Regions from separate parts of the Homo sapiens genome. Here all the other regions are linked to region 3. The links are contacts of gene promoters, found by promoter capture Hi-C in blood cells and fetal thymus (Javierre and others, 2016). All regions are on one chromosome and are shown on one strand. The core of a region is centred on a gene start or on the middle of the fragment in contact, and the rest is flanking DNA. Distances in the headings are between cores, read along the strand shown.

Evidence for each region. The method cuts DNA at HindIII sites, captures the fragments that hold promoters and counts their contacts. A CHiCAGO score of 5 or more calls a contact.
Region 1: a contact is called between a fragment that was not itself captured here and the fragment with the promoter of ICE1 in region 3, in 1 of 17 cell types (activated CD4 T cells). The highest score is 5.7, in activated CD4 T cells.
Region 2: a contact is called between a fragment that was not itself captured here and the fragment with the promoter of ICE1 in region 3, in 2 of 17 cell types (M1 macrophages and endothelial precursors). The highest score is 8.8, in M1 macrophages.
Region 4: a contact is called between a fragment that was not itself captured here and the fragment with the promoter of ICE1 in region 3, in 9 of 17 cell types (naive CD8 T cells, naive CD4 T cells, total CD8 T cells and 6 more). The highest score is 12.5, in naive CD8 T cells.

Annotation. Positions count from the first base shown.
Region 1 is chr5:6,347,370-6,350,215 of GRCh38, reverse strand. No RefSeq gene overlaps it. Among named protein-coding and RNA genes, the nearest start is that of LINC02145, 12 kb to the right of the region's middle. The HindIII fragment of the contact is 2,989 bases long and covers 1-2,846 here.
Region 2 is chr5:4,881,704-4,884,403 of GRCh38, reverse strand. No RefSeq gene overlaps it. Among named protein-coding and RNA genes, the nearest start is that of LINC02114, 110 kb to the right of the region's middle. The HindIII fragment of the contact is 8,088 bases long and covers 1-2,700 here.
Region 3 is chr5:5,421,427-5,424,126 of GRCh38, reverse strand. It overlaps ICE1 (interactor of little elongation complex ELL subunit 1), which reads right to left and starts at 1,450. Exons shown (of 19, transcript NM_015325.3): 1 at 1,128-1,450. The coding sequence starts at 1,211. LOC101929200 (a long non-coding RNA gene) reads left to right here and starts at 1,998. Exons shown (of 6, transcript XR_001742583.3): 1 at 1,998-2,700. RefSeq lists silencers at 1,018-1,157, 1,218-1,547 and enhancers at 1,578-1,827, 1,693-2,203, 2,204-2,700. The HindIII fragment of the contact is 2,607 bases long and covers 931-2,700 here.
Region 4 is chr5:6,388,910-6,391,823 of GRCh38, reverse strand. No RefSeq gene overlaps it. Among named protein-coding and RNA genes, the nearest start is that of MED10, 12 kb to the right of the region's middle. The HindIII fragment of the contact is 517 bases long and covers 1,227-1,743 here.

The DNA of each region.
Region 1 (2,846 bases), core at 208-2,707, 930 kb before region 3:
AAGTGGTCGTCTGCTTTTACTAGTGGGACAGCTTGACCAGTGTAATGATTTTCAAGCTACAGAGACAGGTAATATGCCATACATAATTGCATAATATGTAAGAAAAATATCCATTTTCCTCGCACTTTATAAGACAAGTGTGTGCAGGTACCAGATTAATGATGTCAGTCTGGCTAGTTCTACTTGACATTTTTTTCTTAAAATTTTAACATATAGATTTTATACTTCTCGACTCTTATAACCTTGTATGCAGTAATGACTAATCAATTAAATGATACCCCCAAATATTAATATAAATGCTAGGCAAGATACAAGAATTCCCCAGCGGGTCCATTTTGCTGCCTCTGGTTTAGAAAATCAACTTTGCAGCCGGCACGTTGGTGGTGCCACTGTGATATACTCAGGTTTGTGTGGATGCTTCCTGCCTCGCCTTCCTGCCGCAGGGGTGGGAAGTGTGTGGTGTTGAGGTCAAAGGACCGGGCAGGTCCATGTGACTGCTCAGGTGAGGCTGGACCGTCTAACATAGGGGCTTTGGGATCACGTCCACGCCTCCCTTCATGGGTGAGGGACAATACTGTGGTTTCTCACAAGGACGCGCCCATCTGGAGATAAAAGTGAGGCACTGAAGGTGGAATTTGCTCCTGGATGAGGGCCCGGTTTGCTGGCCCCTCCCGGCGGCTGCCCCCACCCACTTGTTTTCCAGCTTGGCAGTGCTGAGCAGGGTGTCTCTGGGCAAACCCCGTCCGTGCCTGCGGAAGCCAGAGGGAGCCGCCTGTGCTCGGCGCCAACCATGGAAGCGGCTTTCAGAGTCCTCGGAGGACCCTCTCCGGGGACCACAGGGCGACGGCCGCTCCTAGCGCAAGGGCGTTTATGAACTGCTTGATAAAAAGGTCAGAGCGATTTAAGCAAAAACGGAAGGCCCTGCTGCGGCTGAAGACCCTTCTGAGGGGGAGATAAGCCCGCTGTGAAATTAGAATGTCAGTCAGCGGGAAAATGGGATTCAGAACGCTTTAAAGCTGAAAAGCTCCTTAGAGACTTTGCATCAGAAGCCCTCATTTTCTAGGTGAGAAGACTGGAGCCCGGTGAGATGGAACAGGCCCTGCAGGGCAGGACTGGGGCTGGACTCTCACACGCCTGGGTCCTGACTCTCGGGTCTTCCCACAACATCGGTCTGCATCAGGAGGCAGAGACTGGTTAGATGTTCAGCTTTCTGCTCTGGGTACGCCTTTTGGGAACCTGTCCCCTGGGAAAGAAGCAAACAGATTACCCCAGTTAGGAGTAGATCCAGCCTCCTGAAGCTGAGGACCGGGAACCCCTGCCCCCATAGCATGCTTCTGAGGTTCAGATGGGGGCAGCGGGAGATTTGGAGGAACATAAGGGAGAAGCGGCAGCAACTAAAACCTTGGCAGGCAGCGGAGGCCTCTCTGCCCGGAGCCCGTTGCAGCAGGAAGCCCCAAAGCCACACGGAACAGTACCTCCTGCCCTCGGCCCCTTCCAGGGAATCGAACCAGCTTCCGGGCCAACCTGGCCCTTGGCTGAAGCCCTGCTCTGCCCTGCCTCCTGCAGCCCCCGCCAAGCACCAGGCCTCTTACGGGTGGTATTGGGTCCCCAACAAAGACATGTCGAAGCCCTAACCCGTGATACCTGTGAATGTGGCCTTATTTGGAAATGGGATCTTTGCAGATGTCATCAAGTTAAGATGAGGTTATACTGGTTTAAGGTGGGCCCTAAGCCCCTGAATGCTACCCTTACAAGAGGAGAAGAGACCCAGAGACAGCACAGGCGGAGGGAGACGATGTGAACACACACAGCGAGAAGGCCACGGACGGCAGAGGCAGAGATCCGAGGGATGAGTCCACAGCCAAAGGGCTCCAGGGCTCCCAGCACCCCTGGGAGCTGGGAGAGAGACCTGGAGCAGATTCTGGATTCTCCCCCAGAGCCTCCAGCCCTAGCACGGCCCTGTCGACGCCTGGATTTTGGACCCGAGCGGTCCAGAATTGCGGGAGAATACATTTCTGTTGTTTTAAGCTGCCTGGCTTGGGGTAGTCTGTACCGCAGCTGAGGAGATGTACACGATGGCCTTTAGAGTCCGCTCTGAGGCACCCCTGGAGACTGCTCCTGCTGTCCAGGACTTGACCGCAGCAACCACCTGACCCGCCCTCATCCCTCCCTCACCTCATTCCCACTCGCGTCCAAATCTACCCTCCTCACCCTGCTGCAATGGCCTTGCGCAAACACACCTCTGATCATGGCCCCTGTGCTCAGCGATGCTTGGAGGCCAGCGTGGCAGCCCAATCACAATTGCCCAGCGTGGCTACGTGCCCTCCAGGGTCCCACCGCATTCCCTGGGCCCCCCAGGCCCTCACGTCGCCGTGCCCACCCTTCGTTCTTCAGGGACCACTGTGGGGTCAGGTCTCAGCATCGCCCCCGCCTCTGTTTCTATTATCAGGAAGCCGCTTGTTCCCTGTCTTGCTAGCAAATACCTGCCCATGTTTTCACATTCGAGCCGGTCCTCTGCGCTCCAGGTTCAAGCAATTCTCCTGCCTCAGCCTCCCAAGTAGCTGGGACTACAGGTCGGGCCTGGTTAGTACTCGGATGGGAGACCGTTTATTCATTTTATAAGCAATCGTAATAAAGACACACGGGGATGTGCAGTGACCTGGTTCTGCCCTGCAGAACTGCTCAGCATGTTTGGGAGGAAAGATGCATTCAGAAACCTCCCTTCAACTTCTCCTTGGCCACTGTGTGAGTGTCTTGATGTCACTCCAAATCAGCATGGGAAGGCCAGCAATGGGGTCCAGGTGGGGAAACTGTGCTTGTGCTGGACACTGGAGGATGCGGAGGCT
Region 2 (2,700 bases), core at 140-2,639, 540 kb after region 3:
AGATTGCTGGGTTAAAAAAACAAAATAAACAAACAACAGTTCAGAAATTGTTATCTGAAACACTTGGCTGGACCCCACGCACAGGAAGCTCAGGTGCTTAGGGGCTGGCACAGCCCTGAAGAAATGCTGGCTCTGCCATGTCTCTCCTTGTGATGCTCCCCATGCCTCATGGTCACCTAAACCCTTCCTTTCCTCTGATTCTGTTGTACCCATTCACTTAAGGGTCCGAATCGTCTGTGATGTTTTGGAAAATATCGTTCCTTCTCCTGGCCAGGTTTCTGGCTTTGTTAGGCCAGTCATAAACAGCACGGTCATAAGCAACACATCCATTGCAAACCTGCTTCTCCTCCCTATTGTCTGCAAGCCCCAGTTAAATGTTAGTACCAATATTAATTCATTTTCAATATTGTTTTCTTAAATTACATTACTATTTCTTAAAAATAACCTTTGTCTCCCTTCTGTTGCCTACTCTTGGGTAAAAGGGTTAGTCATAAAACTTGCTCCTGTAATGCCTCCTTTAAATGTCATTTTGAGCAGTTTTTATTTGGGGCATCAAATTAAAGTGATTCGTGTATTTGTTTTCTCTTTTTCTCCCTGCATGCTCAGCACTTTTCCTCACCGCAGGGTAAGGTCCCCAGGAACACCCTTGTACACGCTCATTGTCATGAGGGTTGAGTTGGGCCATCATAGCCAGAGTGACCTGTGGAAATGCTGAGTTCCTCCTCCAGAAGTGTCAGTGCAGGCAGCTAGTGTGAGCACACAGCCTTCTGCGGATGCTGGAGGGAGCAGCCAGCCAGAGAACTGAGCTTTTCCAAGGAACCAGGGAGGGGAGGCAGCAGCTGTGACGGATCTGAAGTGGCCCTTGACACATGGGCTTATTAAATTAAAGTTATTGGCACAGTAATGTGAGCGAGAATCATGCACTGAATGTGAATCCAGGATTCACATCCTGATTTGTGCATGCATCCAGCCCTGCCTTTCCAAGGTGACACTTCTATTACTCCGCTGAACTCTGCTCCTCTGTGATAATAACGGGGTACCCTTGGCTTGCACACTTGAGATGTGTCTTGTTCCCGGCACTGGATGCCTGAGGACATTGCCTTTCTTTGCTTGTGTCCCCGTTTGTATTTTAAAATGTGCTAGAATGCAATCCCCTCACCTCCCTCAGAGTAGTAGTTAATATTTCATATGGATTCTGAAAAGTTACATCTACAGTTCTGTCAGAAGTGAGATGCTGAAGGTCTACAGACTTTATAGTGCAGGTAATCAAAGACCCCGTGAAGACATTGGGAGGTCAGTGAACAACACAGTCAACCTACAGTGCCTGGAGTCAAACTTTTCAGATAAGTCTCTACCCTGTACCATTTCATGATGACAAACAAGGCCCAGCCACCCTATCCGTGGGACACTGGCAGGTTCTTGTCAATCAGGCCTCAGAACCATCTTTTAATGTTTTCCTGCCACCTAGGGTGATGCTACCTCTGAGCTTATACCCAGATGCTGCCCCCAAGAGTGTGGACTGAAAAGACACTGCCAGAATCTGGATTCAGACACTTCCACACCGTGGAGTGCTAAAGGGCACAACAGCAGGGCCCTGAGCTGCCTCCTGGTTGTCACATTCATGCACGTGGTTGTCCTGTGCCACAAATGCCCTTCCAGCCTGGCCCTCCAGCCCTGGGTCTGTCTGGGGACCACCTCTTTTGGCTTCAACATCCATCTCAAAGGTCACCTCTTCTCTTAGCTTTGCTTCAGAAATCACTGTTTTCTCTGCCTGCCATCAGTGTGGGACTCCTCTCTCTTGCCTTATGTTTCCAAGTTGGCTGCTTCCTCAAGGACTGTGAGTTTCTGCAGGACCTGGTGAGTAGAGCTTCCAATGGCCTCCTCCTCATCCCATTGGTGAGGGAGGAAGTCCTGCTCCAGGCTTATGAAGATGGCCAAACACACACCAGCACGGGGCAGATGCAGCTGGCAGTGGTATGTTAGTCACATCCACTCACATTCCCAGGATGGAAGACACCGTGCGTCATGTGGCCCCACAGAGTCACATTCAGGAACTGAGTATCCACCCAGGGGCTGGGGCAGGCTGGCTGTGTAGTAACAAGAGGGTGGGATGACCCTGGTTCCAGAAGGAAGATGCAATTTGCCTGTTTGCATCATTTCAGGGGCTGGGGGTTGTGGAAGGCCACTGCTCAGGGATCAGCTGACATTGCACCCGATTCCTTGATTCCAAGCAACAGGGCGGCTTGGCCAGGGGACATTGTTCATGGGAGCAGATTGGGCAATATCTATGGCTATGCCATTCCAGACTCTCCTAACTTTACCAGCGCATTAGTACCCCAGTAAGTGCCAGGGAAGGGCTGGTGGTTAGTGTGGCTACCCTTGTAAGTGCCAGGGAAGGGCTGGTGGTTAGCGTGGCTACCCTTGTCAGGCTACTTGCATGGCTAACATTCTACATAGGAAGTGTGCGAAGCTCAGAATTTTTGTATAATTTGTTTTGCCCTCACTTGTCATGCTCCTTCAAATTATAGCAAAAAGTTTAGGAAGATCTCATCTTTGGCATACTGAGGAATCTAAGATCAGTGAGAACTCCCTCTGGTGTGTGGCAGGCCAAGTATTTTAGAGAGGGACGGATGTCCACATATCAACAGCTGGTTTTGTTCATCCTCTATTAGTGTTCTGGATAGTCCTGCATTTTCAAAG
Region 3 (2,700 bases), core at 201-2,700:
TTCTGCTCATCAAAGACACCCTGCTCCTTCTCACCAAAGGAACCTTTCCACCTGTTAATCCCTCTATCCAGGAAGCTCTTCCCACATCTCTTCTGACAGCCCGATCCTTCCCATTATTCAAATATCTGAAAGTTACTGACTCAAAAATTCCCTACCTGACTACTCTAGCTAAGAGACAAGACCAATATTCCAACATCCTCCTTTATTTTCTAACACCTAAAATCTTCTGAGGCCTTATTCACACATATGCATCTTACTTATGAGAGATCCTATTTTGTTCACCACAATGTCTGTAGTTCCTAGAACACTAGGCAGAGTAGGTAATGAGGTGCTGGTGAGTTCCGTTTTATCACTGAAACCGCGATAGTAGGAAGTTAAAAGAGACCCCCGACATCAGGCAGCTAGGAGAGTCGTGGGAAATGAGGGGCACTATTGCCCAAGTACCACCCCATAAGATCTGGAGCCATACTCTAGCAATTCTCCCTTATGTCACTCTAAAGAAGAGCCCACGCCGCTGTTAGAAACCTCCAGTCTCTGCATGCCTTTCATAAACTACTTTTATCAAACAACTGACAAGCTACTTGACCAATTACTTGGCTTGCTTTTTAAAAAATTAGCCTCGGGATGGCACATCTGCTATAAGCTGAAACGCCTCCCTAGACTCTTCGAGTCTAAGACTCAGACAACCCACATGTCACGTAAGATTCTGCCTCCAAACAACAAATACTCAGGATGGGCCAGAAGACCAAAGCGTTATCCTCAGGGAGATAACTGCCCTCGGCGTTTCACCTGTCCCTCACTGACCTACGGAGTCTGCCCTAGGGAGCTCCGAGGCCGGGTAGGGAAGGTGGGGGGCCCTCCAAACCTCGCTTACTCCACCCCCACCGTTACACCAGCGCATTCCAGTCAATGAACTCTGGGTTTCAAGCTTAAATAAAGCAAAGAAAGCCGTCCCCAAAACTCATGTAGGAAAAAGAGAGCAGAGAGACGAGCGAGCAAGAGCTACGGTTGGGAAGGGAGAGCAGCGCACTGAGGCACAGCCCGCGCGGCCGGACCCCACATCCCTGCGCTCCCGGCCGGCCGAGCCGAGTCCCCCCCCGCGCCCGGGGCCCCGGGAGGTGCTGCACCTGCTGCAGAGAGGCGCAGCCCTGACATCGCGACAGGTCCGCCGCCGTCCCGGGCGCCGCCGAATGGGTCTCGCCCGGCATCATGGTGCCGCCGCCGGGCCCGGTGGGCACGCACGCCTCAGGGGCCCGCGGCGTCGGCCCCGTCCTGTCTCTGCTGATGCCGCCGGGGCCGCCGCCTGCCAGGCCGCTTCCCGCCAGGTCCGGGCGGGTCCATCCGTGCACAGAGGTCCCCGTGGGGCTAGCAAAAGGCTCTCCGAGCCAGAGCTGCCTCAGGCACTAAAAAGAAACGCTACCCGGCGCGGCCCCCGAGCGCGACGCAGTCCAGTCAGGGCCCCGCCCCGCCCTGGCTCGCCCCGCCCCGCCCTGGCTCGCCCCGCCCCTCCCCTGGGCGCGGGGCTGCCTAAGGCGCTGCCTGAGCAACACCGGGAGAGGAGCTGTGCTATGCGGCGGGGGAGACGCCCACAGAGGAGCAGCCAATAGGAGTAGAAGGATCGAAGGTGCATTCCTACCACTGTTAAGGGTCGATCCTTTATTGCCACCTTGCTGTACGACAGGCTTTCCATAGACACCTAAAGGCCTCCGCTATGTGGGCGGTGACCCGCCCGTGACGTAAGCTCCAGACGCCTGAGAAGTGGAAGGACCCGGCGTCCAGGACAGGAAAGTGCGTGATTTACAGCTAGAGGGATAGGCGCTGTCCCGGAGCCCGTCCTGGGCCAGGGAGCAGGAGAGGGAGGGACTACAGTTCCCGACGCGCTGCGGGGCGGGCGGAGATCGTGCGCTTCGGCGCCAGTTGCACGGCCTTAGCAGCCAGTGGCGGCTCCCCTGCTCCTGTAACAGTCCCCTTGTCTTCTGACCTTTCGCTCCTCGGTCATGTGTCCTCGCCGGTCGCCGCGGCAGCCAGTGATGCCCGAGCGGCGGGTTCCCAGGCCCAGGTGTGGGCGCCACCGCCCACCATGCGCCAAGCCCAGAGCCTGGTTGAATCGTTCGCCACCTTGTCTACCCATTTTGGCCATTATCCTGCCACCTCCAAATCCTGTTTTTGACACTTCTCGGGAGAGAGAGAAAACGGAAAGATAAAGGAATAAACTCCTCGTGGTCGTAGTTAGTGGGTAAATTCAGATCTCGTTTGAACCGAGGTTTTTCTTATCTCCAGCCACCGTATCCACCACCACCAGAATCGTCTTTTTAGTCATCACAGCTGGTCGCCGTCAGTACCTTGTTCAGAAGCCTCTCGCAGCTTCCATCGTGTGGTTATACAATCCAAATTCCTTATAAAGTCCAAATTCAAGAGGAGGAATGCACGTTTAGTTAAGTTAATGTCTAGACCTTACCAGCCAATTTCTAGCTCCTCAGTATGGAAATTGCAACTGAAAACACCCCTTCCAAAAAAAGCAGTCTGCATTTTTCTCTGAGTTTTCTTCTCCAAATTTCGCACCCCTGACCTTGCTTACACACTCTGGATACCACCTGCTGTGGAGTGGCGGAAGCAGACATCCAGCGATAGCTAAGTTTCCTGTCGTTGACACCCAAGCAAGACAGGCGTGTACCTAACTGAGGACCTGCCGGTGATAGA
Region 4 (2,914 bases), core at 236-2,735, 970 kb before region 3:
AAATGAAGTCATTTGCCCAAGGCCATACAGTTATTAAGTGGTAGGGCTAGGATTTGAACTCAAAAGGTGAGCCCCAAGTCCCTGATATACCCATTATGTCATACTATTGATACTATCTTCCTAACTGTCCTAAAACATTGCCTTGTTTTTCTCTCACTCAACTGTTCTGAGATAAGTAATCCATTTAGGTGGAGAATCTCTGCTCCACTGGGCATTCTAAGATCCATGTTCCTTCCAAACCATTGCTCCTCCATCCTCAGGGGCTCTACTGGCTGATACAGTTGCCGCTGGTGACATGTGACTATTTTAATTTTAATTAATTTAAATACATTTAAAGACAATTGAAATTTCAGTTCCTAGTTGCACTAGCCATAGCTCAAGTGTCTAGTGGCTCGCGTGTTGGACAGCACAGATCTCAAAACACTTCTATTATCTCAGAGTGTTCCACTGCTCTGGGGTACTGTCACCTGCCTGGTGGGACCAATCACCAGCACATCAGGGACAGCCTGAAGAAGATGCACCTGATGCCTCATGTTCCCACCCCGAGCAGATACCCATCATTCCTGCTCCCATCCCTTAGTGCAAAGGCCACAGCTCACTTCAGGGAAGCCTGGGTGTGTTAGTCTGTTCTCACACTGCTATAAGGACATACCTGAGACTGGGCAATTTATAAGGGAAAGAGGTTTAATTGACTCGCAGTTCCACAGGTCTGGGGAGGCCTTGGGAAACTTATAATCATGGCAGAAGGGGACACAAATACATCCTTCTTCACAAGACAGCAGGAGAGAGAAGAATGAGAATCGAGTGATGGGGGAAGCCCCTTATAAAACCATCAGATCTCATGAGAACTTACCATCATGAGAATAGCATGGGGAAAACTGCCCCCATGATTCAATTACCTCCCACCGAGTCCCTCTCATGACACGTGGGGATTATGGGAACTACAATCCAAGATGAGAATGGTGGGAAGACACAGCCAAACCATACCAACGGGAAACACAGACAGTGGGTAGCAATGGGTCTGGCTTCAATTCCATTTCTATGGCAGAAGGGCAGAGCAGGTTTCATTGGGATGCAGGCAGTAACCACTAAACGCATTCTGTCTAAAGGTGGAGACGGTTCTCAGCCTCTAGCAGATTCTCTACCTCTGAGGAGGGAACAGGGCCCAGATGTGTCAGAGCTGACCAGGAAGCTATTAATTCTGCCTGAGGCAGTAAGCAAAAGCTTCACCAACATGCTGACATTTATTTCAGATTTCCCCAAGTAAAGCAGAAGGTATGGAAGAAGACTTTAAAGCAGAGAAAAGAAACCAGCAAAGGCAAAGAGGCGGGATTGGTGAGGGTCCCATGAGGCTGTAGGGCACTGGTCAGTGGGAAGGTGGTATCAGATCAGGTGGTAAGGATTTAGAACTTGTTCTGAGGACCAGCGATTCTCAAAGGAGAAATGAGGGCTGCAGAGCAGCTTCCTGGAGGTCGACTCTTTTCACACTACTTGTCTCACCCCTCCGAGAATCCTTTCCCTCTGCCAGGGGCACATGCACCCACTCCTCTCCTCCTGCCTCACCCAGAGAATTGGGGTAATAGAGTGAGTACATGGTCATGGGGATGGGGCTATGCAGAGAGAGGATTTTAACATCCCTGGTGTAGACAGCGGGGTGATGTCAGGAGGTTTTAGGTTGAGGAATGACATCATCAAATACATTTTTGGAAGAAGGAGCCAGTATACAGCACAAAAAGGAAAGCTTGGCTTTGCACATTTTGGGTAGAAACTGATAGAAGGAAGCCACGTTTACCAAATGCCTTCTACATTCCAGGTGCCATGCGAGATGCTCCACACATCAATAGGCACATTTCTTCTATTTCCAGGAGGAGAAATCTGATGTAAGTGAATCCAGCAGGGATCTGTTCACTGGGTGCAGCGAAGTCAAAGACTGATGTTGGGATAGTAGCAAGAGAAAGTGAGGCGTTTATGTAGGGCCCCAAGCAAGGAAAATCAGGCATCCCATGTTCAAGACCCAACTCCCAGATGGCTCATAGGTGAGGGTTTTTACCAACGTGGAGGCAGAGGTTACAAGTAAAGTCATAAATTCAAATATGGAGACTATACGTTGGTTTGACCTAAAAACGTAGGACAACTGGAAGTTGGGGGCCCACAGGTTATAGGTGGATTTAAAGATTTCTGATCTGTGATTGGCTAAGGAGGCAAAGCTTTGTCTAAAAATGTGGGATCAGCAGAAAACAATGTTATTAGGTTGGTGCAAAATTGCACGTTTTGCCACTGAAAGTAACAGCAAAAAAAAAAAAAAAAAAAACCTGCAATTACTTTTGCACCAAACTGATAGCTCTAACTTGTGGGTGTGACGTTCCCAGGCCCCTTAGGAAGAAATTTAGAACAAAGAACAGTGACCAGAGTTTAGTTTTTAGTTTCCCTTAATTTGAGGTCTATGTGTTAGCAAATCTGTTTGGTGGGGGTTCAGGTTTTTGAAAAATAACTCAGGGACATATGTTAAGGTGTTATTTTCAGTTTTTATAGGGAATAACATATCTCTTGACTAACTTTTTTGGCTACTGTTTTAAGCTACTATTATCTTTTTGTTTATTCAGTTATTTTTCAGTGTGAGCTAGGTGCCTGGAATTTTTCCTGAAGGAACTTAAGAGTTTTCTTTATTTCTTCACTGGGCAGGGGGTGACCTGCAGGCCCCTAGGAGGAGTCCCTGCTCCATCTCACTGAAGACCAAGACAATTCTAGAAATGGGCCAAAGTCATATACCAAAGAAGTACTGGGGCTGCGTCCCTTCCTGGCCATACCTGAGCTCCACTTTAGACAGCCAGGGGGACATAAGAAATGCCATTTGGGGTCACTGAGGGCTCAGTGTGGTCATGAGCTCCTTGGTGGGAAAGTACAATGGCTCTAG